Regions from separate parts of the Homo sapiens genome. Here all the other regions are linked to region 4. Evidence: promoter capture Hi-C in 16 types of primary human blood cells and fetal thymus (Javierre and others, 2016). All regions are on one chromosome and are shown on one strand. The core of a region is centred on a gene start or on the middle of the fragment in contact, and the rest is flanking DNA. Distances in the headings are between cores, read along the strand shown. Region 1 overlaps TMC3 (transmembrane channel like 3). Region 2 overlaps IL16 (interleukin 16). Region 3 overlaps STARD5 (StAR related lipid transfer domain containing 5). Region 4 holds the start of MESD (mesoderm development LRP chaperone). Region 5 overlaps TMC3-AS1 (TMC3 antisense RNA 1). Region 6 overlaps IL16 (interleukin 16). Region 7 overlaps TMC3-AS1 (TMC3 antisense RNA 1).

Region 1 (4,170 bases), core at 951-3,450, 350 kb before region 4:
CCATTCAGGTAAGTTTCGTTCCCAGCTCTGCCCGGAGTGACTGACAGCTGTAAGGGAATTAGATCATATTGAACTGAATTCTCCTCCAAGCTCACAGAGCAGGTAAACAGGATAGAAAGATTGCAAACCCGCATGTTTTAAATCCAAGACCAGGGCTCTTTCCTTAATAGAAGGCTGCCCTTAGTATAATCATCTCTGTGCTCATGTTAAAAAACACAATCCTTTTAAAGTGAAAAAGAGAAACAGCATTGTTCTGTGCTAGAGGACATTCTACCTGGTCAAAACACAGAAAGCTTTTATTAAACCACAGTGCACAGCACTTTTTTTTCCTATATTATCCAGCTGTATTCAAGCAAAACCCTCTAGTATCTTCATCCAGCATTCAAGTCAGCTTTGATACAATATGGAATATTTAGTCTACCTTAGTGTACACGATTAGAACACACACATACATGCAATGTGATTAATGACCCCATCTTCCATCCTCCATATTAATTAGATATGAAATCATTTGAGGAATGTTATGAATTGGCCTCCAGGCATCCAGCCATTTTCTGATGTCTTGCAGCATCTTTCTGCCAAGAGCAATAAAATCTGGAGTTATGTTTTTCTTTCTCACAGTGGACAAGAGAAAATTTATGACATTGTGTCAGAAACGATTGAGAAAGACTTTCCTGTGTGGTTTGGCTCCGTGGTTGGACACATCAGTAGCCCCGTGGTCATCCTGCCCGCAGTACTCCTGCTTTTGTGAGTACCACACCTGCCAGCTTTGGAGGGACTTCTGTGTGTTTGGCCAACAAGAAAACGCTGCTTTCCAATAATTACATAAAATTTATTAGTTCATTCAAAAATCACTTAGGCTTAGAGCCTGATGATCTCAACAGGGACTCTGAGTCACACACCAGAGTCACATGAGGCACTGTGCCATGGAGACACAGCCACTGGGTCTCAGCGAGGGGCGATGAGGGAGCACTCCATTGCCATTGAGGTGGTTATTGATCCATCAACACCATTTGGTCAATTACTGTGATCACTAGAATGGGGCTGAATGCCATTATCATTTTCTAGAAACTTAAATAATCCTGAAAAGGAATTTCACAACTCAGCTGAGTAGCTTTGGCTTATTTTGGTTTAAAGGAAAAAAAAATAAAAGTGAGTGGATCCTGTACTCATAGCTTGATAGACTGCAAAATTTCTCCCCCATTTTCAGTTCTTCCTTATTGCTATCACCAGTGCAGAATTCCAGGTCAACGAGGGTGCTGTGGAAAGCCAGGAAGAGAAAACAAAAGCAGCCCCTTCCCAGTGCTCACTGGCTTGAGAACTTGCTGATACATTTTGTCCTTAGCGGAGGGTCAGTGGATAGCCCGCATCTGGCCTGGGAGCCTCTCATTCCTGCCAACTATCTGCAGGGAATGTGGTCTGAAAAGCAGAAAAGCGAGTTGCAGTCCACTCATTGTCCTGTGTTGTTCTGTCCTAGCATGCTCATCTATTATCTCCAGAGCATCGCACGGTCTCTAAAGCTCAGCAACCACCAGCTCAAAATGCAGATCCAAAACGCAAGTATTTCATGAACTTTGCTATTATGAATATGTGTCAACCACATGACTGAGATCCCGCCAGCGTGGGAATACAAGTGAAGTCACATCTTCAAGGTTTCTGTGACTCTTGGCCACCCACTATGGTGCAAGGCCACCAATCCCCAGATGTCCAAGAGTTATTTCTAAGAATACCCAGGGATGGCTCCCCTTTGCTAGGAGGAAGCCTGCTCCTGTTTTTCTTCCTCCTCAAGAGGCCTTGCAGCTGCCTCGAGCCTTTCAGTGCCCACCCTGTGACCACACCAAGCCCTCAGTGTGCCAGGTACTTTTGTGAGCTCTGGTAGATTGGCAGGGGAGAGAAAGGGCCCCTTCCCAATCCTTGTCAACTTGGGCATCTGAGCCCAGCAGCACTGTTTGTCCCTAAAGCCTCACCTCTTTCATATCCTTTAGATGTGGCTGTCATTACGTTCTCTCCATGGGGCTCAAACCCTATCTCTCAGAGCAGTCCCAGGGAGACACACGCTCCCAAAACTCCCACAATTTCTCCTCCTCCACATACCCCAGGTGTTCCCTTAGTGCCCTGGGTCCTCCAGACCCCAAGGAAGGATCCCAAGACTGGGATGAGGCCAGTGAGGCTCCCAAAGCACCACATTTAAGGAGGCTCTGTAAGCGTAATGCTGATTCTGTCCTTTCACAGCCCTGAAAATAAGTGCCTCCTTAAATTTGGCACCCCAGATGCCTCACTGACCTCACCCATGCAAAAAAACTCCTTCCACTTCTATCAGAAAAAAAAAAAAACTTCCCATGAACATCAATTCATGCAAAGAAACACAAATTAGCTTCTAATTGGAAATTCATTTGGAGTTACAAAGGCCATTTTGGTGGAAACATACATCTCCAGTGTTGTCGATCTGTATTTTTTTCTTTGTGATTCAGGCAAACTATTATGGACAGAATCTAAACATGGTCTGTTAATTAGCTGTCCCTAAATAAAACTGGCTAGGCATAAAACTTCAGCTCTCAGGTATCTGCATTTATTCACTCAAATAACAGGCCCGAGCCCAGAGCATACCGTCCATAGGGGGCAATAGTAGTACAGTTATGGTCCAAGGTAAGAACTATGGCATGTAAATCTTTTTCTCTTCCCCCAGGAATAATATTTGTTACTGCTTCCTGCTAAAGCCAAAACAAACATGCATATCATTTGCATTTTAGGCAAGATCAGAGGATAAGAAAAAGGTTGCCCAGATGGTAGAAGGTAAGTATTTCCGTTTCTTTTTGTTGTTGTTTTTTTGTTTTGAGGCAGAGTCTTGCTCTGTCGCCCAGGCTGGAGTGCAGTGGTGTGATCTCGGCTCACTGCAACCTCCACCTTCCCGGTTCAAGTGATTCTCCTGCCTCAGCCTCCTGAGTAGCTGGGATTACAGGTGCGTGCCATCACACCTGGCTAATTTTTATATTTTCACCATGTTGGTCAGCCTGGTCTCAAACTCCTGACCTCATGATCCACCCACCTTGGCCTCCCAAAGTGCTGGGGAGAGCTAGCCCCTAGAGCTAGCTCTAGGTGTGAGCCACTGCACCTGTCCTAATATTTTTTTTAAATGCAGAGATCTGCTGTCTCAGTTAGTGGGCATTTAAAAATACAGCCATTTAAAGTAGTTTGCGGTATACTACCAATACAAATTCCTGATAACCTGTGTTTTTTCACCAGTAACTATGCACAATAAAATAAAATCTAGGGATATAAATGTTGTTTTAAATCTTTAATTTTTATATCATATCCAGGCCCATGAATAATCCCAAAACATGTGTAAAATCAGAAGGAAGTATCGAAGTAGGAGAGGAAAAGCAGCACATTCACGTGGATGAAAGCCCAAAGAATCTCTTTGTCTGGGTCACTTTTGTATACTTCCTCTCCATGGCCCATCTCTTCCTTGCAATGTTCCCTCCCAGGTCCCTTCCCTGAGCCTCCTTAGGTTCTGTCCTGTCCCTGCAGAGCAGGGAGAATGGAAGCATGTGGCGTAGAAGTCTGCTGTGGCCTGAAGGGAAGAAAGTGGGCAACGGCAGCTCGAAGGAGATGGATCTGTTTCTCAGGACCACTAACAGAGTGCTGTGAGCTAGAAGGCTCACTGGGCACCATTAACATGGCACAGCCTACATGAATGAGAATGGGACCCAGAAGGGCTTTAGGGGCTAGCTCTCACAGCTGTTGCAATACTTCACTAATTGGAAGGGAAATATTCCTCTCCAGAAAAATGTCTGAGCAAGACCTCTAAGGCCTAAGGATTATGCTTGCTTGCTCCATCAGCTTTTCAGAGAGAAGCCTACAATTGATAATGATTACTGAAAGTGACTGTGGCTCACGCCATAAAATGCCTCTGTAATCGTCATCGCTTATTTGCCAATTAAGCGTAATTAAATTTAGTTCAGGTCACCTTCAAAAGCCAGAATCCACATAGACTGTTTCAGGATAACAATAGCATTGTCCAGTGTTCATTTTCCAGCTCGAGACCACATCTTTTTTCAGAATGCATGTGAACTGTTTCCAAAGAATCATAATTGTTGTGTAAGCTTTATTATCTCCATTGAATAGATAAGGAACTGGAGGCCCAAAGCTGTTAAGTACTTGCTTTGCCTC
Region 2 (3,874 bases), core at 1,169-3,668, 310 kb before region 4:
CCCGGGGTGATACAGCCCCCGTGTTTGCACACAGGCACATGTAAACACGTCTCAGGCAGTGTACTAGGCAGCCACACATTCTTGGGGTCACAAATTACTGAGTAGCCCCATCAGGTCTGGCCCCAAATGGCCAAAGAGGATGTGGCCCATGTGGCTTCCACTGAGTTGGGAGAACTTACTAGATTCTACAGAAACATCACTGGCTGCAGAGGCTGAGGCTGCAGAGTCAGTGGAGGAGTTGAGGTCGGGCATGGCCTCTGGAGTCAGCTTCCTTGTGACAATCACAGCTTGCCTGGGCTCTCGAGCTTGGCGGAGGATGGCCAAGGCATCATGGTGCGTGGTCCCCTTGAGAGACTTGCCGTTGATGGAAAGAACCTCATTGCCCTTCTGAATAGTCCCTTCCTGGGAGGCCAGCCCATTTGGAAACACTCTGTGAACCTGAGCAAACCAAAGGAAGTCAGGACCAGAAATCACACAAGTCCAGTCCACATACTTGCTGGAGGAGGATTGAACCGGTTAGTCAATGCTAGAGGATTTTTAGGCCAACAAAGATTAAAGATAATTGTGTCCTAGATTGGAGCTGCTGGCACAGAGGCCAGCATTCCCTCCTTCTCCATCCAGAGCAGAGATCACCAGCAGTAATGACCAGGTAAGCCCTCAGAATCCATCCCAACACAACGTCCTATAGTGTACCACCACGATTCTAGTTGGGATTCCATATAAAATCTTTTGCTTCACCTGCCCTAGGTCAGAAGTCCCCAGAGTAGTTTTCTCAAGGCACTGATTCTATGGCATATTAACGGGTATTGTGTAAGAAAAAGGCTTTTCCTATTATTTTTTAAAAAATAGAGACAGGGTCTCCCAGTGTTGCCCAGGATGGTCTCAAACTCCTGGGCTCAAGCAATCCTCTCACCTTGGCCCCGCACAGTGTTGGAATTACAGGTATGAGCCACCACACCCGGCCAAGAAAAATTTTTTAAAATCAAAGAAACTTGAGGAATACTGGGTGAAACAAAAGCTCTGACATTGTCTACTTTTAAAAAGCAAAAGGCATTAGAGGGTCTACAATGCAAATTTGCATGGCAGCAGATTTCTAAGCAAAAGGCATTTAGAGGGTCTACAATGCAAATCTGCATGGCAGATTTCTAAGTATTGGCAGGGTATTATGGGGATTCCCAAAGTGTTTCAACAAAGAATTCTTTTCTCATAGAGAAATTCTCGGTCTCATTTGGCAGAATGCATTTTGAGAAACACTCTCCTAGGCAGTCTAGACATTTTTATAGCTCCTCCCCTAGAAATTCTGACTCTTTACCTCCAGTCACCTCTTGGTCCCCTTTCTGCAAGATATGTGGGATAAACAAACACACAAAAATATCTCATGTCTCTGCCTCAGCCTCTTTAATGAGGTCCATTATAATTAAGAGGACTGAGTGATAGCATGCATGGAAACCACTAAAATGTGGTACCTGTAGTTTTGCTTTTATGATAGGAGCAAAGCTCTTTGCTTCTCTAAATTGTTTTGGTGTTAGAAAAATTCTGTTACATGGTTAGAATCCCCAGGCTGTAACATCCAAGCATGAAGCAGAACCTCTCCTCTGAGCCTCAGGTTCCTCAATGCTAGAGGATTTTTAGGCCAACGAAGATTAAAGTTAATTAAAGGAGGAACCTCAGGTTCCTCCTCTATAAAAGAAGCATAAATGCCACCAATTTATCAATCCAAAGTGTGGGTAGGATGAATTTAGACAACAGGTCAGTGAGTGCTCAGCATGGCCGTGGATGGTGCTCTACGTTAGTTCCCTTTTAATCATCTGGAAAGGAAGAGAAATGCTCAAACACAGAAGGAGAAAGAAGCTTTTGTGCATGTGCTCAGCCAACATGTGCGCCTTCCTCCTAGTTTCCTGTTGTCTGCAGTGTCTCAAGGGTGACTGGCCAGATGACGTGGACAGAAGTTGCTACTCATGGACAGAGAAAAATACCCAAAGTGCCATTCCCACAGGCAAGCTCTCTTTCCTCCTCTTCAAGTAGAAAGTAAACTACACGGTCAGGAATCTTTTTGTAATACTCAGCTGCACTCAGTGAGAGAAATAGAGACTTACAGGTTTTAAGTGTTTTTTATGTGATAGAAAACTTATCAGGAAATCAAGGAAGTCACCACTGACATGATTGACTCTGAAGTGACACGCAGGAACATGCCAGATTGCCACTGCAAGGGGGTGTGGTATGTTGAATGCTGGCTGATGCTGTGAACTGGAGGATTTGTTTTCAGTTGGGCATGGAAATTCAAATGAGCCCAGCACAGCCTACACAAAGGATACCCTGAGACAACACAGCCCTGGGATGACAGCAATGCACTCGGCTTTAGAGAGCGAGCAGCCGCAGCATGGCTCCACAAAACTGGCAGAACCAGAAACCATCTGGGTCAGGTACAGGTGACCTGAAGGCAGCAGCCAATGCTGATCAGATTGGATGAGCCAGAATAGTGGGACCCACAGGAAAAGATGCCCATGGCCAGGCCTGCTACCCTCTCCACGCAGCCCCAGGCTCTGGGATGTGCTGAGTGGACAGGACCTGCCCAGTGGCCTAGTGTCATGCATTCTTCATTTCCCCAGCACAGGGCCCCTTCCTGGCAAGTGTGTCCCCCTCCCCCAGAACCATTGCCTCTGGCTGTGACATGCCCCTTCACTTGGCCACTCACCGTAATCACCTTGTTTTCTAGATCTGCTCCTCCTGCCAAGCTGAACCCAAGACCAGCACCTTCCTCCTTGTGTAAGATGGTGACATGGATGCCGTCTAATTGCTGCAGAGGAAATACATACATTCAAAAACATTTTACTGCAAGAGGATGAACAATTTAACATCGGACTGACATCAGACTGATTTGTTATCTCAAACCCCAGCTTGGCCAGCCTCCAAGTTACATCACCTCCTCAAACCTCAGTTTCCTCATCTGTAAAGAATGGACCTTCAGGAGTCATGGGAAGCTTAGAAGAAAAAAAAAATGTATGTAAAGCAGCAAGCATAATTATTTTCCTCTCTCATTCACCCTGTCCACAGCCGGGCAGGGGGAGTGCCATGAAGTCAGCCAGAAATCAGCATATTGGACAGTGTGAGATGAAGTCAGGTTGTAGGACTTCAGGTAAAACAAAACAAAAAAAAAAAACAACAAAAAACAAAACAGGGGTCAGTGCTGTTCTGCAGGAATTGGTTGCTCCTTCTTCCCTTCTACTTCTCCATGGGTCACAGCAGCAGCACTAAGGAAGCCCAGCTAACATCCTGCCCCAATGCACAGTGTGCAAGTGTGACACACACACACACACACACACACACACATTACTACGGTACTTCCTAGCCTAGACGGGGACTCCCATGGAGCCAGGACACAGTCAGAGACTCCTATTCCAGTCTAGAGCAGGGGTCTCAAACTCAGATGCCTATAGGAGTCAGGCAGGTCCCTAAAATGAGCCAAATGGGCAGATGTGTGATAGGAACTGCAGAGCGCCAACGAGTACATCTGCTCAAAGGGTCAGCTCTACGTAGGCATACAGAACTAGCGCTACCAGATCACTTCCCTAAAGTCCAGGTTTCAATTCAGGTTTTATCATGTATAGAATTCAATATTTTTTTCATCACCATGCAGACCAAATAAAGTACACCTACAGGTTCTTGGGGCACCTGTTTGTACCTTGGCACTAAGGAGTAAACTTATGTCAAAGAATTCACTTGCTCAGCGTCACTAGAGCACCTGACTTGCAGCTGTCCCTATGATCCTAAGACTTGGAGCCCCTAAGACCCAAAGGCATGGAAGGATGAATGTACCTCACTGCACCCTCACCTCCAAGCCCCAACACTAGCCCAACTCTCTCAACTTTTACCC
Region 3 (4,321 bases), core at 1,048-3,547, 330 kb before region 4:
CGTATCTCTTGAGGCCTCTTACCCCTCTTCTGTAGAACAGGGGATTAAGCCAGGTGACCAGAGCCCTTCTAGCTCTAAAATTCTGTGGTTCTGTGCCTTTTGACAGAATGGAGTTTCAGTTTCCTGGAGGCCATCTGTGGAGTTTCCAGGGAACCTGTAAGTGCATGCCTCGTTCAAAGATTACCAGAGGTGCCGCACCCTTCCTGGTATCTTTATGGGCCTGCCTCCTAAAATATTCAAATCAACCCTATAACCTGTGATCACTTGTCCTCCAGAAAAGCCTTACTGTTTTTAATGAAATCATTTCCAGCAAACTGTATTCTTGTGAAAGCTTACTGTCCATTTCTGCAGGCCTGAAGGGAGGCGGGGCTAGTGACTTTCAGCCCCTTCTCTGCAAGTCTGTCCTAAAGAGTAGTGACAGACATGGCATGGTCCACCTTCTAGTCCTTAGATACAATCTCAAGATAACAAGTTTGATTGATGCGTTGGGGTCAAATTCCTTTTCGTGCTCCAGGTACCGAGGAGAAGGCATTGTATATGGGACACTAGAGGAGGTGTGGGACTGTGTGAAGCCAGCTGTTGGAGGCCTACGAGTGAAGTGGGATGAGAATGTGACCGGTTTTGAAATTATCCAAAGCATCACTGACGTAAGTCTTTCCAAGCATGTTATCTCTAGATAGTGTCTGGGCCAGGCTATAGTAACCCCCTCCCATTTCTTCTGGAAGGGGTCCGTGATACCTTTTGTTAAGGGGGTGTGTCCTGCAAGCACAGGCTGCCCACTGCTTGCAGCATTGGAGGCCTGCCTCAGCCCAGTTTCCCGGTGGGAAACCTCATGACTCAGAGAGGGAGAGAAGCCCCAAACAGAGTCTCTGCGGGGAGCATACCTGTTCCTTGTGTGGGGCTGCTGCACTAGGCAACACAGGATCCTCAGCCCCTGGCACCCACTTCCCTGAAGCCTGGGCCAGTAGCAGCTCCACGTACCTGCATGACCCCAGTTACCCTCTGGTATGAGGGTCTTCACGCTTTTTGCTTACATGCATCCAACAGATTTTTGAGAAATTATGCATCATCCTCACACATCCAGTTGATGTCTATTAATAACATTTAGTTTACAACTAAATTTTCATAAGTTGCAAAGCATGTCATTTTTGACATGTAAATCTCAGTTTTGAACAAAGCAATGACATCATTCTTTTAGATGTGTCTAAATAATATATAAATTTTTACTTAAAATACATGAACAAGGTTTTTTAAATCATCAGAAATGGTATATAGCTGTTTTCCTGGAACTCAAATTTCCATTCCACATAGCCCTCTGAATTTTATCCTAATACAATACATGTTTATTCTTGGAAGTCATCATCTTGCATCATAAATATGCATAGAAATAGAAGTTTTTTTAATCATATATTTCATGTAATCATGAGACTAATTTTTTTTTTTTTTGAGACGGAATCTCACTCTGTCGCTAGGCTGGAGTACAGTGGCGTGATCTTGGCTCACTGCAGCCTCTGCCTCCTGGGTTCAAGTGATTCTCCTGCCTCAGCCTCCTAAGTAGCTGGGACTACAGGGGCACGCCACCATGCCCAGCTAATTTTTGTATTTTTGGTAGAGACGGAGTTTCACCATATTGGCTGGGATGGTCTCGATCTCTTGACCTCATGATCCCCCCACCTCGACCCCCCAAAGTGCTGGGATTACAGGTGTAAGCCACTGCGCCTGGCCAAGACTAATTGTTTTTTAAAAAATTGGATTGAGGTACGAGTGTAATTCATTAAAATAACATGATTATATTATAAATTCTGATAAATATTAAACGTGACAAGTAAAACATTTTGCGTCTTTAGATGAGATGAATGGGAGCTCTCTTTTTTCTAATTAACTCATAAGCCCATGAAAAGATACAAACTTTTCAATAGACAACTGCAAAGTAGAGGGGAAGCACAGGCTACTGGTGAGCTCAGGTTTACAAAAAAGTGGAGAATTGCCAAGTGGTAGCTCTTTATCATTTAGTGAAACAATGAAAATGTGGAGAAAGGGCTCTTCCTTGCAGACTGACATTTCTCAGCATGCTTTTGGCAACTCTCAAATATCCTAATTCTAAAATAGATAGATGATCGATGATAGGTGGATGGATGGATAGGATACAGGGCCATGCCATGAGTTTGTCGCATTTATGACATGTGCTGCTGCTGTCTTCAAAATTTCTTTCCAAAGTCCTCCTCATCTTAGTTTCCAGACACTGTACCTCAGGAATGATGCACTTGGAGGCAGTCATCAGGGGTGGAAGCAGTATGATTTTTTTTTCAAAATTTTCATCACTTCTGCCATTACTGTTACAAAATACCAGAATTTAGAAATGGCAAAATTGCCTAGTTTTTAACACCAAGTTTTGGAATATGCTTAAGAAAGGGAAAAACATGAAATTCTAATACCAGTGTGTACTGCCTTGATTACATATTGCCGCCCGCACTCCTAATTGTCCCTTTGCCACCCTGGAGGATTTTACACACTGGGACAATTCATGATAGGATGATTCTAGATGAATGGGCATATGCTGTGCTTTTCTTCAAGTGGGAAAGGAGACCCTGTGTGCAGGTGCAGCCTGTTCCCAGGCAGGTCATTAGGGGATGAAGGAAACACGGAGTAGTTTCCTGGAAATTTATTCTCATTGCACCCATTGCAAAGTGCTCAAGTGCCCCCATGCATCTCATGCCATTCGAAGATTAATTTCCTGAGGCCGAAAGTGTCCCTGATGAAAAGTTCTGCAGCAACACACGATGCCCCAAGTCTTAATACCTGAGGGGAAAGACACAGAGATGGAGACCTTTACCAGCCCCTCTCACCTACCCCGAGACTTCTCTCCAGGACTGTTCCATCACAGGCCTGGCCTGTACTTCTCCACTGTGACCTCGAGAGAGCCTGGGCCCCACTCTCTTGCAGGATGGGATGAATGGGAGAAAGCCCAGCATCCTTGGTTTATAAAATGAGAGTGTGGACTACTGGGATATGCTGAGATTGAGTGAGGTTCAAGGTATTCCCTCCTGGGGCTGGGACTAGGGTAAACCAAAGAGTTGCCCCAGGCACAACATAGGAGGCTGAGCAAGTGCAGGGTCAGCCCTAAAAAAGAGTGGCCTCTCTTCCCTCTCCCTAGCTCTGGCCCTGTTCAAATCCTATCTCCACCATGAGCTTCGTGCTGAGTTCCTTAGTCTCTCTAAGTGTCAGTTTCCTCACCTGTAGGAGGGATTAATGATTCCTATTTCTAAAGGTAAGGGACAGCTGAGAGCTTTGTCCAGCCAGGCTCTTACTAGGTGCTCAATAAATGGTACCTCTTATGGTCACATGAGACGTGACCTCAGCATGGCACTGGTCTGCAGCTAGACAGCTGTGGGCAGCCTGTGTCACAGCCCTCGTCTTACAAACTGGGTGTATTTCCATGACACCCAGTTCCTGGGAAGACTCGCTCTGGATCTTAACTGTTTATAGTGCCACCCTACTGTCAGCCCTAGTACCTTTCCCAGACCTTGAGGGATGGGGTGGGAGTTGGGAGAAGATGTCTGGCCAGCAGTCACAGCTACATGCTTCTTTGGTTTGGCAGACCCTGTGTGTAAGCAGAACCTCCACTCCCTCCGCTGCCATGAAGCTCATTTCTCCCAGAGATTTTGTGGACTTGGTGCTAGTCAAGAGATATGAGGATGGGACCATCAGTTCCAACGGTGAGTGATGCCCGGAGGAGCTGCCATGCCTTCCTGCGATATCGAGCTTTCTCTTCTGCACCCCACAGTTCCTTAAGGAAAGCCAAGCAACCAGAAATCACCAGAAACTCACACTCTGAGTCCCCTACCTCATCTGGTTGGGTTTGGGGGGACTCAGGGCCATGGGGGTCTGACGCAAGACAGTCCATATGCCAGTAATTCTATGTTCAAGTCACGGTTTTGCCAGTGCCCCTTTTTTTTTTTTCCTGCGGAAGCTCATGGTGTGTGCTGTACACATGTGGGTTAGTTGGGTGGCAAAAAACTTGTGTGCAAAATCTATGGCCGTGTCTTCTTGAGGGTTTGGATGCTGTCCACTCCCTTAATGCCCAGTGAGGAGCAGGGCTCCTGCCTCTGCACAGCCCCTGCCATTCCTCCAATTCTTCTACGCGGGAGAGTTGGATGCATCCATGCCTCTCCTGGCTGAGATTTGAGAGAGGCACCTGCCTCCTCCCATGACCAAACCTTGTGTTCTAGAATGTTCTTTTCTCTGATATTCTTGACAAGCTTGGGAAAGCTATGTGCATGTTTATGTGTGAATGTGGATGAGTGAGTGTGTGTGAGTGCAA
Region 4 (3,878 bases), core at 1,160-3,659:
TAATTGTAAAACCAGGATTTCCTCTTATTTAAATTGGAGAGATTATCATCATCATCACATCATCCCTTTGGGCCCGGATCTCCTGTAATCTGCATGAAATTTACTGCATATTGTTTATCTGCTCTGCCAGAGTAAGGATATTGTTATATTCATTTTTGCATCAGTGCCTCACCTGATTCTTGGTTAACAATAGGTCTTTGGTAAATAAAATTCCCCCCAAGTTGAATGGAATCAAGTTCCAAACACTAAAGTAAGTTTCAAATATCCAAATGTTGAAAATGCAATTGATCCAGATGTTTTCATATCAGTGGATTATATGCCGAATTGATTTCCTCCTTAGAGGAAAGTCAGTAGCCCTGAAACTTTCTACACATTCCCAACAATTTCTGTAAAACTTTCAATGATCTTATTCTCTATAACTAGATATGTGGGCCAAGAATCCCAACACGTTTGCCCCTTAACTTTGAAGCTGGCAATATGAATTACCAGGGTGACCCCTCCCAGTAGAGCACATGATCAGCCACAGCTGTGCATGTTTTTTAGTATGACTGCACTAGGATAGGGCTCCAAGCCACTGGGTGGAGCAATGTGCTCTGGGGAGAAAGCTCATGACATTTCCCCTATGATTTCACAAAAGAAAAAATCTTTTTCTTATGAGTTGTTTCTGCTCAACGTCAATAGGAAAGGTCATAGCTTAGCGTGTTTACATACAGATGCATGCATGAATATGTAGAATATCAGCCACTCCTACGGTGTGAGAGAATTTAAATTGCACTGGTCCTAAGAGTGAAGGAAAGCAGGCGTAGTTGCCTACTCAACCTCCACTTTATTCTTTTCCCTTTATAACAATCCTAATTTCATTTGAGATGACAATGTATACAGCTAGAAGACAATTTCTCAGCCTCCCTTGGAGAGCTAGGTTCCAGCCAATGAGATGTAAACAGAAATGTATGCAATGTTCAAGTAGGCTGCTTAAAAGAAGTTGACTCCACTTGAAAGGTGTGCTTGGTTTGGCCTGCCTTCTCCCTTCCTCTGGTTGAATGTCATCTTGATGACTGGAGCTCCAGGAGCCATCCTGGAATTTCTGACCTTGAGGGTGGAAGCCACAGGCTAATATGATAGAAGGATGAGGAAGAGGCTGAGTACCAGATGGCTGAGAAGCCACTATACCAGCCCTAGTTTCGAGTTTACACTGCTTCTGTGAAAGAAAAGTCAATCACAATAAAACCTTTTATCTTGTTTAAACCACCTTAAAAAGTCAGTTTTCTTTTATATGCAGCCTACTAATCCTATCCAAACAAGGCTTGAATAAGGTTTACTACAGCTCTTTTTTGTTGTAATAGCAGAAAAATTGGTAATAAATGCCCATCAATAGGAAAATAAACTATTAATTTAACAATACCAAATAAAACTGTGCAGCAGTATAAAGAATGAAGCGTTTTTTGTTGTTGTTTTTGAGATGCGGGTCTTGCTTTATTGCCCAGTCTGGTCTCAAACTCCTAAACTCAAATTATCGTCCTACCTCAGCCTCCCAAAGTGCTGGGATTATAAAGGCTTAAGCCACCGTGCGGCCTTTGGTTTTTTTTGTTTTTTGTTTTTTAAGGTCTTATGTAATTAAACATTTTAAAGACATCAGCTGATGAGCCGTTTAAAACAAGAAGAATCTCAAAGCATCTTTGGCCAAAATCTTTTTAAGAAACAAAAAGTAGCGTGATTCAGCCTTGAAAAGGATTAGTTAGAGCCTACAGTATTAGGTTGAAATCAAAGAAAGGCAAGCTTTTTTTTTTTTGGATGAATAGTAATGATCTTTTTGGAAAAAAAAAACAAATATTGAAAGCTGGTTGAACTGAATCCTCTTTATTGATGAGGAAAGCAGTGGACTCGAACTATTTATGACTTTCTGAAAAAAGTTGCCCTACCTGCCACTCACTTCTTTTTAACTGGCTGTTCTCAAAGGAAATTGCAAGAGACTGAGGATAAACGTCCGACATCCAGAAATGGGCTTTTTTAGAGCCGAGGCAGCCTCCAGAACTTCCAGTTCCAATTTATTTCACAGGCGAGAAACTGAGGTCAACAGGGACGTTGGTTAGTGGTTCCTGGAGGCCCTGAAGGAACTTTTGGACCTGGCTTGTGCGTTCCAGAGAAAAAGGTCGGCCTCTGACGGAAAACGAAAAATGAGCACTCAGGGACCCACCCAGCCGGGACAGAGCGCCTCAGCCGGACCAAGAGGAGGAGCCAGTGGGGCGGGGCCAAAATGGCGGAGGGGCGGGGCTTCCAGAGGCGGGGGTTAGGAAATGGTACGGGGCGGGGCCCGGTAGGCTAGCGAGGGCCGGGAGGCGGGGCCTCGGAAAGGCGGACAGGAAGGCGTGTGCAAGGCGGGGTCCGGCCCGCGCAGGTCGGGTAAGCGCGTCTAGGGCGCTGCGCGGCGCAGCGAAAATGGCGGCTTCCAGGTGGGCGCGCAAGGCCGTGGTCCTGCTTTGTGCCTCTGACCTGCTGCTGCTGCTGCTACTGCTACCACCGCCTGGGTCCTGCGCGGCCGAAGGCTCGCCCGGGACGCCCGACGAGTCTACCCCACCTCCCCGGAAGAAGAAGAAGGATATTCGCGATTACAATGATGCAGACATGGCGCGTCTTCTGGAGCAATGGGAGGTCCGCGGCGCGCGCACACCCTCCCGGCTCTTCTCTGTGCGGGACCCTGTTCCCTATGACCCCTTACCTGTTCTGTCTTGGGACCTTTCTGACCCCCTAACCTCCTCTACTCATGCCTTGAATCCTTACTGACCCACTGAAGCCACTGTTGACCCTCCATTCCTCCTCTGACCCGCGCGCCCTGCTGACCCTCGCTCCAGCCCTCTGTCATTCCAGTGCCCTGTTCCTCCTGCCATTTCTCAAACCACTTCAATCACGGATCTGCCCCTCACTGTTCAGCTTTGCTCTCCCTTCACCCTTCAGTGCCCTGGTTGTCTTTGCGTTGATTCTTGTGGTCAGTGAGCCCTGCAAACAGGGAGAGTGACCTTTCCCAATCTACTAAAGAGCATTTCCTTCTGTTTTGCGGTGAGTGGGTGGGAGAGTGGGTTGCAGTGAAGATGGTCTTCCTTAATGGTTATCTCAGCTGTCTTCTAAATCAGTATAATTTTAGACTTCCTATTTTGGTATATGTCCCTGCTGGGAATTTTGTGCTTTTTGTGGGTGGATTTATTTTACTGAGGGGAGAAGTATCAATGGCTAATGGCTCTGTATCGTGAAACTCACGCTTTTTGTTCAAAGGAGAGTAAGTTTTCTGGTTTGTCACTTGGACGCACCGGAGTGTGCAGTTACAGGGAGTGTGTAATACGCTTTAAGGTAAAGATTACTGGCCAAAACCACATTGCTGCCTTTTCCCCTTCCTAAGGTGATTGTATCGTCCTGGTTGACTTGCATAGCTGTGGAACCTTGGGCAGGTTATGTCTAGTTTCTAGGCCTCGGTTTCTTTATCTGCAACATGAGGAGGTTAGGATGGGTCCTAAGATTCCTTCCAACACTGATGTTTTGTTATTTTGTGATTATCTCTGTGTGTGTTACGGGAGAAGGGAAAGACTTTCAGACAAGAGTTTAAAATACCACCTGATGCATCTGACTAGAAGAATGCAGGCTTGTGTTTTCATGTGGTCATCAACAGCTGATGGAAAGATTGGGATAGATTTGAGTGTAGAGAGAACGTCCCCATTCACCGTCTCCCTTGCAATCTCCTTGTCTCTTTTTGGACTCCAGCAAATAAAGCCTTTTGATCTGCCAGAGTGAGAACATCACCTCATGAGAAATCCTCCCCTTGACCTACTCAGACCCTGAGCTAGACGAAGAGGGTGCTGAAGAGATGAACAAAGATTGCACTGGGAACA
Region 5 (4,284 bases), core at 247-2,746, 420 kb before region 4:
AAAGCATATTTTTTAAAAAAAAGTTAAAAACATTACACTCATACAAATATAAAGCAAATGTGTGTCAATGAGCTGTTGATTTATTGATGAGGAAACCAGCAACGTGCACAGAATGATTGAAAGAAAAATTAGAGAAAAAAAAGATTACACAGTCTATTAGGAAAGGAATACCAAAATAAATTTGCTAAGTCAGAGATATAACTAGTTAATGTTTTGCATCTCCATTAGACAAAAATCTACAAGTTAACACGTGACTTCAGAGTCTTGGCTTTAATTAACAGAAAGTAGTTAATCAACAAGAGTCCATCTTTTAAAAAATGAAATAATGCTTGATGGGCCTGATAGATGCTGGTCTGGTATATGATATTGAAAGCACGAGCAATCTTCTTTTGCTTTATTTCTACATTTTGGATAATTTTTAAACAATAGCATTTGTTGTAATCTATCATGTGCCATTGCTATGATGTGGTGTCCAACAGTATGATCTGACTAGAATTGCAAAGATTAATTGATTATTTTCCCAGGTACAATACTTATCATTGGTTTTGTGGCTAACCCTGCAAGCTTCTTGGTAGTGGAATAACTTGTAGTTCTTTTTGCTGTGAGAAGTAGAACTCTAAAAGGTGCCTCCCTAGTTTATTTTTTCCATCTTTTCATCCTCCTCCTCCTCCTTTTTCTTTTTTTTTAAACAAACTTTTTATTTTGGAGTAGATTTACATTTACAGAAAAATTAAGGAACTAGTACAGAGAGATCCTGTGTACCCCACACAGTTTCCTCTGTTAGTAACATCTTATATTAATATGGTATATTTGTCACAATTAATGAACCAATATAGATACATTGTCATTAACCAAAGTCCATACTTCATTTAGATTGCTTTAGTTTATACCTAATGTCCTTTTTCTCTCCCAAGATCTTATTCAGGATACCATACTACATTTAATTGTCCTGTTTCCTTCGACTCCTCTTGGCCTTGAAAGTCTCTGAGTTTCCTCGGTTTTGATTACCTTGACACTTTTGAGGAGTGTTGGTCAGGTATTTTTGTAGAATATTCATCAATTTGTATTTGTCTAATGTTTTTCTCATTAGACTGGGATTATGGGGTAGGAGAGGAGGATCACAGGTACAGTGCCATTTTCATGATATCAAGGATACATACCATCAACATGACTGGTCATTGTTGATGTTGACCTTGGTCACCTGGCTGAGGTAGTTTGCCAGTCTTCTCCACTGTAAAGTTACTCTTCTCCCTCTATTTTCCACACTGTACTCTTTGGAAGGAAGTCAGTATATGCAGCCCACACGTAAGGAATGCGAATCATGCTCACTTTTCTTGAATGCAAATTATCTGTATTAGTCAGGGTTCTATAGAGAATCGGAACCAATAGGATGTATGTGTGTGTATATGTGGAGAGAAGGATTTATTATAAGGAATTGGCTCATGCAATTCTGGAGGCCAGGAAGTCAAAAATCTGCAGTGTGGGTTGTCAGGCTCAAGACTCAGGTAAGCCAAGAATATAGATGAAGTCCAAAGGCAGTCCACTGAAGAATTCCTTCCTGCTTGGGGAGGGCAGTCTTTTGGTTTGATTCATGGTTCGACTAATTGGATGAGACCCACCCATATAATGGAGGACAATCTGCTTTACTCAAAGTGCACCCATTTAAATGCTAATCACATCTGAAAACATCCTCCAAGTTAGCACACAAAATTAACCCTCACAGTATCTGCATAAATTATTTGAAATTCTTCTGCACTGGAGATTTGGCTATTCTTCTCCATTTATTTATTTATGCAGTCATTTTGTTTATATCAGTGTAGACCCATCAATATTTATTTTATATATTGGGTTATAATTCAGTACCACTTTGTTTATTTTGTTGCACAGCTTGTTCTGCCTTTGGCCATTGGGAGCTTTCTGTCAGTTCCTGTATCCTTGGCATAGGCCCATCAGTGTCAGTTTTTCTGTGCATTTCCTTATTACTAGCATTGCAAGATGTTTCTCCTCCATCCTTAGAATCATCCATTGCTCCAAGGAGCCCTCATTCCTTCTATCAGAGAATGGTATTAGAAACCAGGATCTGAGTTCTAACTTTACTTGCTACTACTTGGGTGTCATTTATTACCTCTAGTTCCTCTCAGCTGACAAAATAGAGAAATACATGTATACACGTATCTATATAACCCATGTACAGATACATCTATAAATATTCATGTACTATTTATATATTAAGCTAAATATGAGTTTATACAGATGTCTCCCACTCTAATCAATTACCCATGGATTATTCTAGCCTCCTCCCTTTGCTCGTCTGTAACTTCCCACTCCAACAGTGAGGAGCCTGGCTCCCACCCTCCATTACACTTCACTACCTCTTCATTTTTTACACTAAAATACATCAACTTTAGGGTGAAAATTACCAAGCTTATTTTAGAAAAACTCATTTGGCTCACCAAAGAGATGCTATACCTTATTTTTCACAAACCCTTGAAAGATTTCACAATGCCATTTTGAAAAACTTTGTAACAGAACACAATGGGACTGGTGGGTGAATGGATCAATGTTTATCAATACAATCTAATTTTCAGATGCTCATTCTTTTATTTCTTTAGTTCTTCTAAAAGAATGAAGACAACAATGTGACAGCATTTCAGCTGGTGACATCATTTCTCTTGTATCTTCATTTCTCTCAGCATATACAGATCAACCTCTGTCTTCACAGGTGCTCTATTTATTATTTACATCTAGTGTATTTTTCTGATTTGTAGTATATTCATTAAATTTTTAATCACTAACCACCTGCTTCAATGAGTCATTTTTGATATGCTTTCTTGTAAATTGGTATTATAACACTTCACGTCTTATTGTTTTTGTTTTGTTTTGTTTTGTTTTGTTTTGAGACGGAGTTTCTCTCTGTTGCCCAGGCTAGAGTGCAGTGGTGCGATCTTGGCTCACTGCAACCTCTGCCTCCCTGGTTCAAGTGATTCTCCTGCCTCAGCCTCCCCAGTAGCTAGGACTGGGCCACCCACCATGCCCAGCTAATTTTTTTTTTTTTTTTTTTTTTTTTTTTTTTTTTTTAGTAGAGACGAGGTTTCACCATGTTGTCCAGGATGGTCTCGATCTCTTGACCTCGTGATCCACCCCCGCCCCCACCCCCCGTCTCCCAAAGTGCTGGGATTACAGGCATGAGCCACTGCGCCCAGCCAACACTTCACATTTTAAAATCAACTTTACCAAGGTCTCACTTACATATGATAAAATGCATTCATTCGAAGTGTATCGTTTAATGAGTTTTGGCAAGCTACATCCATGGAACTACCAACATAATCAATATAAGAAAATAATTGCTGCATCCCCAAAAGTTCCCAGGGTCATGAGCCTGTTTACAATCAAGCCTTCCCAAGCCCTGATTATTGTCACCATAGATTAGTTTCCACGCAGCAATTTAAGAACAAGAATCACAACTAATAGAATACAAGTGACATTGGAAAATTTTCACAAGACTCTGTTAGCTGAATGACAGCTGAAACAAATTTACCAACGCAGTTCTTGGAGCACATTTACAACTTTTATGATATAATCATTAAAATGCAGTGGAATTTAAAAAGTATAATTAATATTACATTTCAAATTTATAAAACATGTGTAAATAGGATTGTTTCATCATTTTTATCTCCAAAACTGCCTAACCATATGTGGACTACTTGATATACCATAAGCAATGTGTATAGCACATTTTGCAAAACATAATTCTAGGAGGCCCTTGGCTTTAAAAAGTCAATGGCATTGACTTTTCTAATTAAATATATGATAATGTCAGGGGGTGGGGGAGCAGGCAACTTAGGCACACATCTGGCTTTTTCTAGGGAGAAGCCATAACATTCAACAAATAGATGTCAAGGTTTTTTGAGAATTGTATAGGAGAGTTAGTCTAGTACAATTAATCTCAATCTTCAGTGTAGTTAATAAGTCTTTCTTCTAGGCATATGCTTGGATTTTATCCCTGGACAGCATGGTTCAGTAGGTGACAGGGCCCAAGGATCTGAATCCTAAATGAACATCCCAGGTGACCCTGCTGCAAGTGTTCCACTGACATCACATTGAGAAATACTACTTTAGACCTCTCAATCTGAAAAATCTGATTCCATGCATTTCAGTCATGACTTTCCTATAACTGGAAATACTGTATCTGATGCAAGATGATGATGTGTCAGGGAGTTTCTGACAGGCATTTTCGCATTTGAGGAGACATTGAACTCACTGATCTTTAAAACCCTTTCACTT
Region 6 (4,154 bases), core at 1,535-4,034, 300 kb before region 4:
ATTTCAACCCACTCTGCAAATAGCTGATGAATTCCATTTCCAGAAATACCCCGGGAATCAATGGTTCCTCAGTATCTTCTAGATAAAGTCCAAAGTCTATCAATGCAGGGGTTCCCAAGGAGGCCCCCTCAACTCTCCAACCTTCTCCCCACTACTTGCTGGAAAATTCTAGGCAAAGTTACCACTTCATAGGTTATCTCTATGAGCTAGTCCGTTCTTGGCAATGCTGTCATGACATCATCATTATCAACAATATCGTAATAATCACAATCACTATTATACTGTCTGAGCTGTGACTCACAGTTTATTATCACTTTGGAGTAATAGTTAAGAGTATGAGTCCTAGAGTCAAAAAGGCTTGTGTTCTAGTCCCGGTTCCTCTACTGTCTAGGTGTGAACACCTAGACAAGTTACTTAACCTCCTGAGCCTCCATTTCTTCCTTCTGTAAAATAATAACAATAATAAAACCCACTTCAAAATGAGGACAGGTTTTTTAAAAATAAATTATTTGACATCAAAAGTACAGGAAACAAAAAAATAGATAAATTGGACTATGTGAAAATCAAAAACTTCTGTGCATCAAAAGGACATCATCAACAGATTGAAAAGGCAACTCATAGAATTGGAGAAAATATTCGCAAATCATATTTCAGATAAATAGTTGAGTTGCAGATTATATAAAGAACTCCTACAACTCAGCAACAACAACAACAACAAAACAACCTGATTAAAAACTGGGCACAGAACCTGAATAGACATTTCTTCAAAGAAGATATACAAACAGCCAAAAAGCAAATGAAAAAATGCTCAACATCACTAATGATTAGGTAAATGCAAATCACAACCACACTGAGTTACCACCTCACACACATTAGGACATTAGGATGGCTACTATAAACAAAAAGAAAAGAGGCTGGGCATGGTAGCTCATGCTTCTAATCCCAGCACTCTGGGAGGCTGAGGCAGGCAGATCACTTGAGGTCAGGAGTTCGAGACCAGGCTGACCAACATGGTGAAAGCCCATCGCTACTAAAAATACAAAAATTAGCCTGTGCAGTGGTACACACCTATAATCCCTGCTACTAGGGAGGCTGAGGTGGGAGAATCACTTGAACCCAGTGCAGTGAGCCAAGATCGTGCCACTGCGCTCGAGCCTGGGTGACAGAGTGAGACTCAGTCTCAAAAAAAGAAAAGAAAATAACAAAGTATTGGCAAGGATATGGAGAAATCGGGACCCTTGGGCTCTGTTGATAAGAATGTAAAATGGTGTAGCCACTGTGGAAAATAGTTTGAAGGCTCCTCAAAAACTTAAAAATAGAATTACCATATGACCCAGCAATTCCACTTCTGGGTATATACCCTAAAAGAAGGGAAGTCAGTATCTCAGAGGAATCTGTACTCCACGTTCATTGTAGCATTATTCACAATAGTCAAAAGGTGGAAACAACCCAAGTACCCAAAAACAGATGATAAACAGCATGTGATACACACACACGCACACACACACACACACACATACACATACTAGAAGATTATTCGACCTTAAAAAGGAAGGAAATTCTGGCCCGTGCTACAACATAAATGAACCTTGAGGACATTACGCGAAGTCAAATAAGGCAGACACAAAAGGACCCATTTTATATGATTCCACTTCGATGAACGTAGAGTAGTCAAAATCACAGAGACAGAAAGTAAAATGGTGGTTCCCAGGATTTGCTGGTAGGAGAACATAGGGACTTGTTTAACTGGTAGAGTTTAAATTCTGAAAGATGGAAAGAGTTCTGGAGACGGATGGTGGCAATGGTTGCACAACAATGAGAATGTCCTTAATGCCACTGAACTGTACACTTAAAAAATGGTTAAGATGGTAAATTTTATGTTATGTGTATTTTACCACAATAAACAACAATAAATAAATCATTTAAAGTCTGCGGCACAATGCCTGGCAGATGGTAAACTCTTACTAGAGGAGAGTTACCATCCACAACAGTCCTGTAAGGTAAAGACCACTCCCCTATGTCAGAGTTGAGGAACCAGAGGCTCTTGGAGGTTAGATGAGTTGCCCAAATTAACCATAAGCAAGCAGCAGACTGGACACATGCCAGGCATTCTGCTGCTGGGCCTGGCTCTCTTCTCTCTGCCCTATGCCTGTGCCCCTGGATCTCCACGGCCTAGGGTGTCTTCGTCTTTCTGCTGCTCTAAACCTTACCTGTCCTTTCTGGCCTGGCTCCCTTATCTGAGCAGCTGGAACTCCAGCTCCCTCACTCTCAAGGCCCTCACCTCTGTGGCCTCTCTGTGTGTGTCCCATGTCTCTGGGAGAATGCACATTCCTTAAGCCCAGGGCTACAGCATTTGCCCACAACCTGACGCCCTACTCCACTGATTTTCTGCCGTAGTCCTAAAAGCAGCAGGAGGAAATGACAAATTAATTGGGACCTCTTTCTTTTCTTGTATTGTCCAGAGATTTAGGCCAATTATTTGTTTGCCTTAATTAAGAAGTTTGCTTGTCTCTGATTGTGTTTAGCTCCAGTGTGCAATCCACAGAATGGGGCTGGGTTTGAATTCCACCACACCATTATATATTGATTTCCCTCATTACTCCACTCTGTCCAAGTGTCACTGGGAGTTTGGGAGTCAGTGAGTTCAAAGCACAGGCTTTGCTGGATTTAAATCTTAGCTTCTTTACTTAGTAGCTTCACCATTGGGAAACTTATTTGTCCTTTCTAAGCCTCAGTTTCCTCATCTGTGAGTTGGGGGGGAAATATCACACTGATTTCAGGAGGCTGCACAACAACTAAATGCAGTTGTGTGGGTCACATCTTTGAAAAACATGCCTGGTGCATATTAAGATTAAATAATTCTTTGTGGTGATTATTCCAGGTTCCCCAGAGCTCTCACCAACAGCAGGGATTCAACCCCCAAGTCTAGCTCCAGCCTGGGTTCCTGTTATAGTTGCTATCAGCCCTAAGTCTAACTTGCCTACTGGGCATCTTTACCTGGACACCCCGTGGTACCTCCACCTCACTATGTCCCACAGTAAGATCATGCTCTTCTCTCCCTCCCAAGCCTGCTACCTTTTCCTCTTCTCTCTTCTGGTGGAAGACCATTGCTCAGTCTTCCAATCTAAAAATATTCGAGATATCTTCGGTTCCTCCCTCTCTTACCCCAGAGCCACTTGCCCAGCAGCTCTTGTTGAGTCTTCCCAAGCATTGCCTCATGTTGCCTGATATGGTTTGTCTGTGTCCCTACCCAAATCTTATCTTGAGTTTTAGCTCCCATAATTCCCACATGTTGTGGGAGGGACCTGGTGGGAGATAATTGAGTCATAGGGGCAGTTTCCCCCATTCTGTTCTCATGATAGTGAATAAGTCTCACAAGATCTGACGATTTTATAAGGGGTTTCCCCTTTCACTTGGCTCTTATTCTCTCTTGTCTGCCATCATGTAAGACATGCCTTTCACCTTCTGCTGTGATTGTGAGGCCTCCCCAGCCACATGGAACTGTAAGTCTATTAAATCTCTTTTTCTTTATAAACTACCCAGTCTCAGGTATGTGTCTATCAACAGCGGGAGAACAGACTAATACATTGCCCCTTCTCTTTTCTCTTCTCATGGCTGCTGTGTAGTTCAGGCTCTCACCATCAGCTTCCTTCCTCTTACAAACCCCACACTCCACCCACTCTATCCTGTCTTCTACAGTGCAATCAAAGGTTTAAAAATTAAAATATGAACATGCTCCTTCTACAGCTACAGACCTCCCATAGCTCCTCACTATGTAGAATAAAATGCAAACTCTTTAGTATCCTGTTGAAAGCCCTCTGCAGTGTAACCCCAATGCCCTGCCAACATCTGTTCTCAGTCACTCTTACCTAGTACCCTACATTCCAGCCCCACAGAACCCACTCCTCTCCTTCCATGTCAGGTCCCTTTTTGACTCTGTGACATTGAATTTTGTGTTCCCACCTCCTGGAATGATCTTCCTTATATTCTCTGCCTGGAGAAAACTAACCTCTGGTATTTTTTTACTTTATCAACCATTCCCTGCTATATTCCTGTATTCTCATAGGACTTACCATCTCTGTTTTGCAATTATTTGTATGTCAGGCTCTTTATTGATACTGTGAGCTTCTGCAGGGCAGGACTGTGTGCTATGA
Region 7 (4,019 bases), core at 1,484-3,983, 400 kb before region 4:
AGATGTCTGCATTCAGACAGGATGGTATTGATAATCAATGAAGGAGTGTTCATATATTTTAATAAGAACAAGGAAACTCAAGCTCTCCTAACTTCCTTATCCCAATGAGACTTTGGATCTGTGTCTTCTCTGTGTCCAGTATCCAAATGTATATACCCCATTACCTACAGCCACCTCTTTGGCAACTCTCTCCCTTGTGTCCTGCAGGTGAGGTTGGAATGTAAGTTGATAGACTGTCACAGCTATGGTTTAGGGCCTGAGTGACTGGAGGAGGGTGGCAGTTTCCGCCTGTCCCCACAGGCCATTGCAGCTTTCTGTCTTGAATGGTCCATCTGTGCCCCTCAACAGTATACTACTGTAGTTTAAGAACAGTAACTTATCTTTCAAGACCCAAACTAAGCAATACTCCTTCTCTCTCCTCTTCTACCCCTCCCTAGCTCTAAGCATTCACCCATCACAGCAGTCACCTCACTCTGTTTCAATTCTTGCTTTGTCTGTCATTCTATCAAGCATCAAGTTGCTTTAAGGAGAAGATCATGTATTTTTTTTTATTCCATTCCCTAAGGAAGTGCATAGGGTCAGGCACAAACCAGACAGCCAGTAAATGCTTGATGGCAGAATAAATGAGTGTGCAAACTCATTCCTTACCAATTGGGAATATTCACACAAGCTCTCTGTCCCAGCCATGTCCATTTTTTTCAGAATAGGCCAAGTTCGAGAATTCTACCTTGGTCTTGATTTTAGGATGAATTGGAGAACACAGAGTAGAAAGGCTCTGGGCAGTAGAGGAGGAATACAAATGTTAAAAATGAGGGTGGCAAAAGGTTTGTGCAGAAAGCTGATGGAAGGGAGAAAGAATGGAAGTGGGTCACACAGCTTTAAAATCAAATGAATCCTAGATTTTAGCAAACAAAACCTTGTTAATTTTTTTTTCTCCTGCCTCTCTGTTGACTACATCTCTATTTTATGGCCATTTGGAGATCATTTGAAGTCCATCCCATAATTGTTTTCTTGCTAAGCTTCCTTTGTGCAGAAAAAAATGATAATGCAGTTAGCATGCTTTCAGAAGTCCCAGAGGAAATTAATTTGTTTACAGGATTGTGTATCATATGGTTAAACCAACAAAGAGGAACAGACAGTTCTCCTCTCAGCCGAGCTAAGCCACTGCTGTGTGAGGTCAATAGGCAGGGAATGTATGCAGGGTCCCAGTGAGCTCCAAGAGGGGCCATCTAGACCCAGGTCACGGTTCTCAAACCATCCCCACTGCGGAGCCATTCTCAGTTACGGTAGCTCAGCTCTCTGCTCCTGGATTTTGTTATTCTTTTGTGGGGCTGATGTGTGCAGCATAGACTGCCACTTTTTTGCAGTTCATCCCTGCTGCCTCCCCCTGTGGGTTCTTCAGAAACACAGCCCTCATGATCCTCCTCACTCCATTTTGCGACCACCCAAGTGGTTTTGCTGGCACTTGGATATTATTCCTGCACTCTGAGCTTTATACTGGAAGTGAACCAGGACAACGCTCAAGCAGATGGCACCTAAGGGTTAAAAATAGATACACAGAATTGAAACAAAATAGACTTAAGTCAACAACGAGCCCTAGAATCTAGGGGTGCACCATAATGTAAAATTTCCAAGTGTCAGCATTTAATTCCACTTTTTTGTTCTGTATCATATATGCCAAGTCTGGATTATCACAGTTTCCAAATTAGTAGGGCAGAAATTTAATAAGACCCTATCATAACCAGTGACAGTTTATCTTCCTTTTTTAATCTCATGAAAGATACCACTTAACAAATTTCATCCTTCCTGCAGTTGGGCTGGGAGCACATGTTCAATTACACAGTGCGGGCGCGTTCACCAATCAGCCGGCTTCCCGTGAGCTCTGGGAATTAAACCCTGCATCTCTGGGCCTTGGCAGGCTGCTTCTCCCATCCATGGGCAACTACAGTAAATTCAGACACCCCGAGTTAAATTCTATATATGTACTTGGCTACTGTTTGGGCTTGTTTCTTAGACAGGAGAGGGCATTTTTAAAGTTTTATTTGCATTTGGAGCTGGATTAAAGAGCACACATAGTGTGTATGTTATGTCGTTAATCAGTATATTGGCAAAATATTTTGTTTGCAGTTCTCTACATGAATCAGTTCAGTTTGCAAAAAATAATTCATCTCAAAGCATTCTTACCAAACTTTAATGCTGATTTTAAAATAATGTCAAGAATGATGATAATAATGGCTATCACATATTTCATAAGAAATTACTTAAACCATTCTGGCCATGCTTTCATGGTGGGGTTTAAATGACACTACTATTATAGACACAAGAATAAACATCCTTCTCAGTTTTTAGTTTCCTACTACGCCCTATGCACTGTGGTAGGCCTTTCCTATACAATTTTGCTAATCTTTACAACGTTGCAAAGTTATTTCTGTTTTGTAAATAAGGAAATAATGACTCAGGGACAGTCAGTAAAAGCTCCCTAGCTTTCACTGTGGAAGTACTCTAGCTAGCAAGCAGTAGAACTGACATTTAATGCCTGGAGTATTTGACCCCCAAGCCTCTTAAGAATCTAATTTATCAACCAAAATAATCTACATGGAGTGATGCAATGTGTTTATGTGTGCAGCATAGTGTTCACTGCATCTCCCCAGGAAGATTATTTTGGTTGACAAATTAGATTCTTAGTAGACACAGAACAAATCATAGGCTCAATTGTCATTTATTCACCCAAATAGAGTAAGTTATGTTTTTTTAAAAGAAAGATATAATATGTAAACTGTCTCTTGTTTGTTTTTTACTTTCATGTAAAAGTATAGTACTGAACAGATAGACTAGCAAGGTGTAAATATGTATATATTTAATATCTGGTGGGGATAAATGCTATAAAGAAAAATAAAGCGTGATAGGCAGCCAATGAGGGCTGGTGGTTTGCTCTGGTATGTAGGGTGGCCAAAAATACCCTCTGATAGGGCAACATTTGAGAAGAGACTTGAAGGAGGAAAGGGAGCAGGTAACTGAGCATGCAGGGAAAAAGCATTCCAACCAAGGCAAAAGACACACGTAAAGACCCCAAGGCCACAGGCCTGGAGTATTTGGGCACAGCAAGGAGGCCAGTGTGGCCAGAGCAGGGTAGGCAAGACACTCAAATTACAGGAGAAGAGCTCCAGGGTGCAGCACAGGGTCCCTCTTGTTGGGCTATGTAGCTCTGGGTAAGGATGTGGATTTTACTCTGACTGAGAAAAGGAGCCACTGGAGGTTTCTAGAAGAGAAGGCACCTGATTTGACTTACATTTTTTACAAAAAAAAATTCTCTGGCTGCTGTGAGGAGAATGGGATGTAGCTGGGCGGGAAATAGTCTTTGGAAGTCGTCAAAAGAAACAGGACAACGATGAGGAGGCTGCTACGACAATCTAGGCAATGGCGGCTTGGACTGGGCAGTAGTCACAGAGGCAGATGGAACAGAAAGGCTCTGATGATTGCATTATTTTAGATAAAACGTTGTATTTCATTAGCATTCTTGTTACTTCACTTTTGATGTTGGAAATTTAGGTGGCCCAATGTTTTAAATAAACCTATCACAATCAAACATTTTGAACACTTACTACATCAAACACTATTCTGAGCCTTTTACAGCTATTTATTTTCATTCTCACAGAAACACTTCAAAAAGTCCCAGTTTTCCTACCTATGGGTTGGACAGCCTTGGAGAGTCGTATCTCTTGAGGCCTCTGACCCGTCTTTTGTAGAACAGGGGATTGAGCCAGGTGACCAGAGTCTTTCTAGCGCTACAGTTCTATGACTCTGTGCCTTTTTACAGAATGGAGTCTCAATTTCTCAGAGGCCATCTGTGGAGTTTCTATTTTAGATCATTTCAAAACCAATCACATTCTCATCCCCCTTCTCTCACAGGCCCCCGACAGCCGGGTTCACACAGTCCCACACCTCTTCTGGTGTCCCATATACAATGCCTTCTCCTCAGTACCTGGAGCACAAAAGGGAATTTGACCCCAGGGTATCAC

Evidence for each region. The method cuts DNA at HindIII sites, captures the fragments that hold promoters and counts their contacts. A CHiCAGO score of 5 or more calls a contact.
Region 1: a fragment that was not itself captured here is called in contact with the fragment with the promoter of MESD in region 4 in 1 of 17 cell types (neutrophils); the score reaches 7.3 in neutrophils.
Region 2: a contact is called between a fragment that was not itself captured here and the fragment with the promoter of MESD in region 4, in 4 of 17 cell types (neutrophils, monocytes, total CD4 T cells and 1 more). The highest score is 9.3, in neutrophils.
Region 3: a fragment that was not itself captured here is called in contact with the fragment with the promoter of MESD in region 4 in 1 of 17 cell types (neutrophils); the score reaches 10.4 in neutrophils.
Region 5: a fragment that was not itself captured here is called in contact with the fragment with the promoter of MESD in region 4 in 2 of 17 cell types (neutrophils and total B cells); the score reaches 6.0 in neutrophils.
Region 6: a fragment that was not itself captured here is called in contact with the fragment with the promoter of MESD in region 4 in 3 of 17 cell types (neutrophils, non-activated CD4 T cells and naive CD8 T cells); the score reaches 7.0 in neutrophils.
Region 7: a fragment that was not itself captured here is called in contact with the fragment with the promoter of MESD in region 4 in 1 of 17 cell types (neutrophils); the score reaches 5.2 in neutrophils.

What each region holds. Positions count from the first base shown.
Region 1 is chr15:81,335,232-81,339,401 of GRCh38, reverse strand. TMC3 (transmembrane channel like 3) reads left to right here. Exons shown (of 22, transcript NM_001080532.3): 17 at 1-8; 18 at 622-747; 19 at 1,478-1,556; 20 at 2,751-2,793. The region is part of intron 2 of TMC3-AS1 (TMC3 antisense RNA 1); the gene reads right to left. Among named protein-coding and RNA genes, the nearest start is that of TMC3-AS1, 13 kb to the right of the region's middle. The HindIII fragment of the contact is 3,810 bases long and covers 296-4,105 here.
Region 2 is chr15:81,302,472-81,306,345 of GRCh38, reverse strand. IL16 (interleukin 16) reads right to left here. Exons shown (of 19, transcript NM_172217.5): 16 at 2,696-2,797; 17 at 180-438. Among named protein-coding and RNA genes, the nearest start is that of STARD5, 20 kb to the left of the region's middle. RefSeq lists enhancers at 1,995-2,525, 1,910-3,109. The HindIII fragment of the contact is 1,130 bases long and covers 1,854-2,983 here.
Region 3 is chr15:81,318,734-81,323,054 of GRCh38, reverse strand. STARD5 (StAR related lipid transfer domain containing 5) reads left to right here. Exons shown (of 6, transcript NM_181900.3): 2 at 107-156; 3 at 515-647; 4 at 3,599-3,716. Among named protein-coding and RNA genes, the nearest start is that of STARD5, 3.2 kb to the left of the region's middle. The HindIII fragment of the contact is 3,928 bases long and covers 334-4,261 here.
Region 4 is chr15:80,988,350-80,992,227 of GRCh38, reverse strand. MESD (mesoderm development LRP chaperone) reads left to right here and starts at 2,409. Exons shown (of 3, transcript NM_015154.3): 1 at 2,409-2,649. The coding sequence starts at 2,437. RefSeq lists a silencer at 2,136-2,415 and enhancers at 2,166-2,460, 2,100-2,713, 2,446-2,725, 2,714-3,328. The HindIII fragment of the contact is 12,917 bases long and covers 1,779-3,878 here.
Region 5 is chr15:81,402,553-81,406,836 of GRCh38, reverse strand. The region is part of intron 6 of TMC3-AS1 (TMC3 antisense RNA 1); the gene reads right to left. Among named protein-coding and RNA genes, the nearest start is that of TMC3, 30 kb to the right of the region's middle. The HindIII fragment of the contact is 1,860 bases long and covers 567-2,426 here.
Region 6 is chr15:81,286,193-81,290,346 of GRCh38, reverse strand. All of the region lies in intron 10 of IL16 (interleukin 16), which reads right to left. Among named protein-coding and RNA genes, the nearest start is that of STARD5, 36 kb to the left of the region's middle. RefSeq lists an enhancer at 3,490-3,569. The HindIII fragment of the contact is 6,054 bases long and covers 1-4,154 here.
Region 7 is chr15:81,385,621-81,389,639 of GRCh38, reverse strand. All of the region lies in intron 6 of TMC3-AS1 (TMC3 antisense RNA 1), which reads right to left. Among named protein-coding and RNA genes, the nearest start is that of TMC3, 13 kb to the right of the region's middle. The HindIII fragment of the contact is 3,423 bases long and covers 1,022-4,019 here.